Regions from separate parts of the Homo sapiens genome. Here region 2 is linked to region 1. Evidence: promoter capture Hi-C in human tissues and cell types (Jung and others, 2019). All regions are on one chromosome and are shown on one strand. The core of a region is centred on a gene start or on the middle of the fragment in contact, and the rest is flanking DNA. Distances in the headings are between cores, read along the strand shown. Region 1 holds the start of WT1 (WT1 transcription factor). Region 2 has its middle 33 kb from the start of WT1.

Region 1 (3,482 bases), core at 710-3,209:
CCATTGTATTAGTAAAGCGTTTACTAAATTACCGAATCAAACCGAACTGGCTTAGGTTCTCAATAGCGTGGAAATCCACTGAAAATAAATGAAGAGGGCAAACTACAGGGGCTCCGCAGGTTCGGGTCCGCGCCGCCCAGGCGAAAGAGAGGTGGGCGGGCATCGGCGCGGGATGAGAAACCAACCTGATACTTATCGTGTGCCGAGTTCCCTCCTTGTATCCTGACTAAGCACAGCGAATAACCCTGTCCTTGTTCTAACCCCAGGTCTTGAAGAAATACTGTCCCAGCTGAGCCCCGCGTTTACAAGATGAAGAGGCGCCCCAGATGCGCTGAAAGAAAGGCCAAAGCTCGTGCCTCCTTCCACTGCCTGCGGTAGAACCTGGTCCCGCATAGCTTGGACTCGGATAAGTCAAGTTCTCTTCCATCCCCAGAACCTGCGTGGCCGCCGCCTGAGCGAAGCCCAGTGAAGATCCACTTCTGTATTACCATACGCGGGAGCTATCCACGGACACGACGCTGTTCCAGAAAGCCATTTAGTTACTGGAGGTGCATGTGCTCATTCTAGTTCTCTACGATACTTAATGTGCACCTAAGTGTGTGCCAACACCGTATTATAAGGGCTGGAGGTGCTCCTGGACATTTTAGCGCTGCGGAGGCAGCACAGCACAGGCGCTCACCCCCGCGCTGGTCCCACTCCGAATCCAGAGTCCAGACGTCTGAAAAGCGCTACGCTTGGTGACAATTTGGCGTTTCCTTAATTAACAAAACTCTCCCCAAGGCAGAGCCAGACACTGCGCCGGTCTCCTGGTTCCACTCCCGTGGGGACTAGCAGTCCCGGAATCTCTCGGACTCTAAGGGGCCCCAGACGCCCTCCCGGCTCTTGCGAACAGTCAGGCTCCTAGCTCTGCCTGGCTTTGGAGGATGTCGGGGGCCAGTGCCTGCGTGCACTCCCACTCTCCGGCCTCCTCCCCAGCCGCCGCTTCCGCTATCCTCACGGCCCTTGGGAAGCAGCTGGGTAAGAGCTGCGGTCAAAAGGGGTAGGAGAGGGGGGTGTCCTAGAGCGGAGAGTCCCTGGCGCCACTGCCCCGCGCGTAGGGGGCGCTCCCCGGCCTACTTACCCTGATTGCGAATAGCGGGCTGGCTCTCGAGGCAGCTGGGCAGGTAGGGCGCGTTAGGAAACATCCTGGCCTGGCCGGATGACGCCTGGCTGGGCGGAGGAGGACCGAAGGGCCCGTAGCGACAGGCTCCGGCTGTGCCAGTGAACTGGCCGGAAAAGTGGACAGTGAAGGCGCTCAGGCACTGCTCCTCGTGCGGCTCCGCGCCGCCCCAGCTCGGCTCCTGTTTGATGAAGGAGTGAGGCGGCGGCGGCGGGGGTGGCGGCGGAGCCGGTGGCGGCGCGGGGCCGCCCAACGACCCGTAAGCCGAAGCGCCCGGGGGCGCAAAGTCCAGCACCGGCGCCCACTGCGCCGCGCCGCTCACAGGCAGGGCACAGCCGCCGCCGCCACCCAGGGAGGGGACGGCGGGCAGCAGCGCGTTCAGGTCCCGCACGTCGGAGCCCATTTGCTGCGGCTCAGACCCGGACGCCCCGCGGCTCCTCCGGCCCTGGAGACGTTCAGCGCTGGCCTCGGCGGCGCCTAACTTGGCCCAGATGCCGCCCGGGTCCCGGACTCCCTGCTGCTCTGGCTGCTGTAGGCACCCAGGCCCGGAGCGGAGCGTGTGCTGAGACGCCGGCTCCGGGACACACGTGGAAGCCGGGTCCTGCAGCAAGAGGAAGTCCAGGATCGCGGCGAGGAGACGGCGGGGCCCGGGCGCCTGGGCTGCCGTCCCGGCTCTGGGTGGGTGGGTGGGTGAATGAGTAGGTGGGAGGGAGGGCGGGAAGTGGGGGAGCGGACAGGCGGTCGGGTTGCGGAGAGCCCCCGGGTGTGGGCGCTGCCTTGAACTCCTTACCCCAGCTGCCTGGCTGCCCTCAGCTTCCCAAAGCTCAAATAAGAGGGGCCGGCGGCGCGGGGAAGAGGAGGAGCCAGGAGGCTCGGCCGCTCCATTCACTCAGCAGCCCAAGCCCGGCCAGGCAGCGCGCGCTGCTCCTTGGGGGCGCCCTCGCAGCTGGGGTGAGGGCGGGTCCGAGGGAGCGTCCCTCTCGGAGACACCCTCCTCTTCAACCCAACACGCGCTCTCAGCTGGCCGGTGTGGCACAACCCTCCCCCCACCTCCCCTTCTTGGCCTTCGCCAGTGTGGGAGCCTCGTCTCACTGGAGAGTCCGTTCAGGTAAGCAGTGAGTCCGGGCAGGGTCGAATGCGGTGGGAGTAGAGATGGGGTTGTTAATCTAAAAGAGTGGTTTGGAGGGAGGGGCAGGTAGGCTCCAAGAGGGCGGGAACTTCAGGAAAGCGCAGAAAGAACTCAGTCAAGCTTCAAAGAAGCGTATACCCTTGCTTTGCACCCTTGAGTCTGGCTCTTGCTTCTAGAACTGTCGGGTAGGGGAGTGGCCATGATCTTGGGGTCACTGGGGAAAGAGGTGGCCCTTTGTGGGTTCCAGAGGTCGGGACTGAAAGCGAACGTCCCTCAGTTGGGTGGCCGGGAGTTGCACCAGTTATAAGCCGGGCGTATTTCGATCGGCTAGTAGTTGTTTACTTGGTGAGGTTTGCGCCAGGCGGAAGGCGGTTGCCGCCTACCTAAAATTGGAGTCAGCAGCACTTAGTTTCCCTTTCCAGTGAGGAATATCTAATTCTTCTACGGTTAAGCCGGGAAAACAGCGGCTAGTTTAGGAGGGAAGAAAACCCTTGGGCAAACGCCCAAAGCCTGCGTATATTCCGGCCGGAGCATCCTGGCGCCCAGTTTGGGGAGGAGGGGTGAAGGGGAGGGTTTGGATACGAAGCCCGGCAGGGAGCGGGTAACTCCTGGAGCCACTCCGCCGAGCACTGCCTGTGGCCCTGGTCGAGGATACCATTCTGGTTGCTCAGTGATTGACCAGGAGGCGGAAGCCAGTTAAGGGGACCAAGGAGTGGAGTAGGGAGAACCTCCATCGGCCCACGGGCGCGAGTTAGTGTTCGAATCTTTGGGAGCTCGAAGAGCTTCGCTAAATCTGACTCCCTTCGTCTAGTCTCTGTTTGGCAGCCCCCGCGCCCCAGAGCAGGTGTTTGGGGCGGGTAGGGGGTGTTTTGGTTTGGTTTTTGGATCTTCTAAAGGAGTCAGTATCTATTGGGAAACAACCCCTAGGCAAGGAGAAGAACCGGGGGCCGGAGCGGAGCGTGTTTCAGAGGTGCGTATAAAATCCCAGGGGCGCCAGGAGGCAGCAGCGACGGCGCAGCGTGGGACGGCCAGGCGCGACGGGAGGGAAGCAACCGGTTGCAGTCCGGCCTCCTGTACCTGGCTGGCCCGGGCTGGGGCTGCAAGCTTTCCAGCCAAACTTATGTGAAGCAAAGTAGTTGCAGTTTGACAAAGAATGGCGTTTCAATAAATGACATAGTAATTTTTTACGCTTTG
Region 2 (3,482 bases), core at 294-2,793, 33 kb after region 1:
ACATTTTTATTAAAGTTGCAAGTCCCAGCATCTAATACCAAAACATATTTCTGGACGTTTGTATTATTAGTGATTTAAATTTTCTCTTTGAGCTTTTTAAATATTCCAAATTGTCTACAATGAGCATGTATTTCTTTTACATATTTTTAAAAAAGGCTTTTCAAAAAGTAATTCCTAACTATAACATGTTTTAGGAGAAAATCTTCAGGATTTAGGGCTTCAGCAAGAAAAACACAACACCAAGAAGTACAATCTATAAAAGAAAAAATCAGTAGATTCAACGTTATAAAAATTAAAAAACAGCCGGGCGCGGTGGCTCACGCCTGTAATCCTACCACTTAGGAATGCCAAGGCGGGTGGATCACCTGAGATCAGGAGTTCAAGACCAGCCTGGCCAACATAGTGAAACCCCGTCTCTACTAAAAATACAAAAAAGTAGCCGGGCATGGTGGTGCATGCCTGTAATCCCAGCTACTCAGGAGGCTGAGACAGGAGAATCGCTTGAACCTGGGAGGCATAGGTTGCAGTGAGCCAAGCTTGCACCCCTGCACTCTAGCCTGGGCGACAGCCTCTACCCTGTCTAGTTTGCACTCTAGCCTGTCTCAAAAACTAACCAAATAAATAAAAATAAAAAACTTTTGCTCTGGGAAAGACCTTGTTAAGAGGATGAAGAGACAAACTACAGGCTCAGAGAAAATATTTGCAAACCACACATTCTGACAGAGGACTTTACAGTAGATATATATATATATAATCTACAATATATAAGTAACTCAAAATTCAGCAGTGAAAACAATCTAATTAGAAAACAGACAAAAGATATGAAAAGGATTCGCTGAAGAGCACATGATAAGCTATTCAACATCCACATCACTATCGTTAGGGAAATGTAAATTAAGACCATGAGGAGCTATCACCCTTTACACCAGCTAAATTTTAAAATAGTGATGGCTTTTGGGAAGCTGACGTGGGAGGATTGCTTGAGCTCAGGAGTTCAAGACCAGTCCCGGTAACATAGGGAGACCCCATCCCTAGAAAAAATAAAAATAAAATAAAATAATAGAAGTAGTGATGGCAAGGATGCAGAGAAACTGAGTCACTCATGCATTGCTCGTGGAGTATAATATGGCACAGCCACCCTGGAAACTGATTTGGCAGTCTTCCTTTCTTAAAATTAAACTTAATTTTTTTGAGATGGGGTCTTTGTCTGTTGCCCAGGCTGGAATGCAGTGGCACAACCACGGCTCACTGCAGCCTCAACCTCCCAAGCTCAAGTGATCCTCCCATCTCAGCCTCCTGAATAGCTGGGACCACAGCCACATGCCACCAAGCCCAGCTTATTTTATCTTATTTTTTTTTTAGAGAGAAGGTCTCACTGTGTTGCCCAGGCTGGTCTTGAACTTCTGGGTTCAAGCTAGCTTGCCACCTTGTCCTTCCAAAGTGCTGGGACTATAGGCGTGAGCCACTGTGACTGGCCTAGCAATTTCTTAAAAAACTAAACATATGATTACCACATGACCCAGCAACTGTACTCTTGGGCATTTATCCCAGAAAAATAACACTTACATCTACCAAAAAACCTGCACATGAATGTCCATAGTAGCTTTATTTGTAAAAGCCCAAATCTAGCAACAACTGAAATATCCTTCAAGAGGTAAATAATTAGGCAAACCATGGTACATCCATACCATAGAATACTATTCAGCAATAAAAAAAGGCCAACCCTATTGACATGCACAACAAGCTGCATGGACTTCAGGGGTATTATGCCAGTGAAAAAAGCCCATCTCAAAAGGTCACATTCTATATGATTTCATTTACAGAACCATCTTGAAATGACAAAATCACAGAGATGTAGAACAGATGGGCATCTACCCAGTTAGGATTGGTGGGGAGGAGGACAATGGGTTATTATTATTATTTTGAGACTCACTCTGTTGCCCAGGCTAGAGTGCAATGGCATGCTCTCGGCTCACTGCAAGCTCTGCCTCCTGGACTCAAGCGATTCTCCTGCTTCAGCCTCCCAAGTAGTTGGGATTACAGGTGCCCGCCACCACATCCTGCTAATTTTTGTATTTTTAGTAGAGACGGGTTTCACCATGTTGGTCAGGCTGGTCTCGAACCCCTGACCTCAGGTGATCCACCCGCCTCGGCCTCCCAAAGTGCTGGGATTACAGGTGAGAGCCACCATGTCCAGCCAGCAATGGGTTATTCTAATGGAATAGACTGAGGAAGCTCTTCGTGGTGATGGAATAGTTTTATGTCTTTACTGCAGTGGTGATTACACAATCTGCACCTGTGAGTGGCATAGAACTATACATATACATTGTATCAATGGTGACTTCCTGGTTTTCATTCTACTATAGTTATGCAAGATTGTAAGGGCGGGGAGTCGGGGGGGTGGGGGGTGGTGGGAACTGAAGGTACACAGGACTTCTCTGTACTATCTTTGCAACTTCCTGCGAATCTATAATTGTTTCAAAATTAAAGAGTGCTTTTAAAAAGCAATTCATCCATATGTAGAAAATTTGGTATATGCAGAAAAATAGAAAGAATGATAGCTTTAAAATTCATAAGCTCTTTGATATTCATTTCATAATGCTGGAATGTATTGCTTAATTTTTGTTTTTTATTTTTCTGAGGTAAAATTCACATAACATAAGACAACATTTAATGCATTTTTTTTTTTAAGAAGCAGGGTCTCTGTTGCTCAGGCTGGAGTGCAGTGGCACAAACAGTTCACTGTAGCCTCGAACTCCTAGGCTCAAGGGATCCTTTCACATCAGCCTCCCAAGGAGTAGGTGGGACTTCAGGCATGCACCACCATGCGCAGCTAATTTTTTTTTTTTTTAAGAGATAAGTGTCTCACTACCAGTTGCCTAGGCTTGTCTTGAACTCCTGGCCTCAAGCTGTTCTCTTGCTTCAGCCTCCCAAATTGCTGAAATTACAGGCGTAAGCCTCCTCACCTGGCTCACTTTAAGCATTTTAAAATGTACAATTAAAGGGTACTTTTGATACATTCACAATATTGTGCAATCATCACTACTATGTAATTCCAGAACCTTTCACCATCCTCAAAAGAAACCCCATACCCATTACCAGTCACTCCTCCTTCAGCCCTCCTGCAAGCCTGTGGCAAATGCTTTCTGCCTTTCTGCCTACTCTGGACATTTCATATAAATGGACTCACAGTACACAGCCATCTGCCTCTGCTTCTTTCACTTAGCATCTTGTGGTCAGGGTTCATCCGTGTATGTAGCATGTATCAGCACATCATTGCTTTTTATAGCTGAAGAATATTCTGTGAATATGCTTAATTTTTGTCTTTATTTTATTACAAAATTTTTGTCAAGCAATCCTCCTGCCTCTGATTCCCAAAGTGTTGGGATTACAGGCATAAGCCACTACACTCAGCCTAATTTTTGTTTTAAATAAAATTCTTCTTCACTCCCCTCTTTTTTTTTCTTTTTTTCTTTCTTTCC

The links. Contacts are between HindIII fragments. The study calls those that stand out against the background at their distance.
Region 2: a fragment that was not itself captured here is called in contact with the fragment with the promoter of WT1 in region 1 in 1 of the 25 tissues and cell types used here (spleen).

What each region holds. Positions count from the first base shown.
Region 1 is chr11:32,433,580-32,437,061 of GRCh38, forward strand. WT1 (WT1 transcription factor) reads right to left here and starts at 1,960. Exons shown (of 10, transcript NM_024426.6): 1 at 1,121-1,960. The coding sequence starts at 1,781. It overlaps WT1-AS (WT1 antisense RNA), which reads left to right and starts at 1,939. Exons shown (of 5, transcript NR_120548.1): 1 at 1,939-2,267. RefSeq lists promoters at 1-423, 1,761-2,959, 1,761-2,411, 2,053-2,155, 3,059-3,395, enhancers at 309-893, 2,001-2,033 and cis regulatory regions at 2,340-2,377, 2,362-2,488, 2,581-2,600. The HindIII fragment of the contact is 5,194 bases long and covers 1-2,900 here.
Region 2 is chr11:32,466,956-32,470,437 of GRCh38, forward strand. No RefSeq gene overlaps it. Among named protein-coding and RNA genes, the nearest start is that of WT1, 33 kb to the left of the region's middle. The HindIII fragment of the contact is 7,158 bases long and covers 1-3,482 here.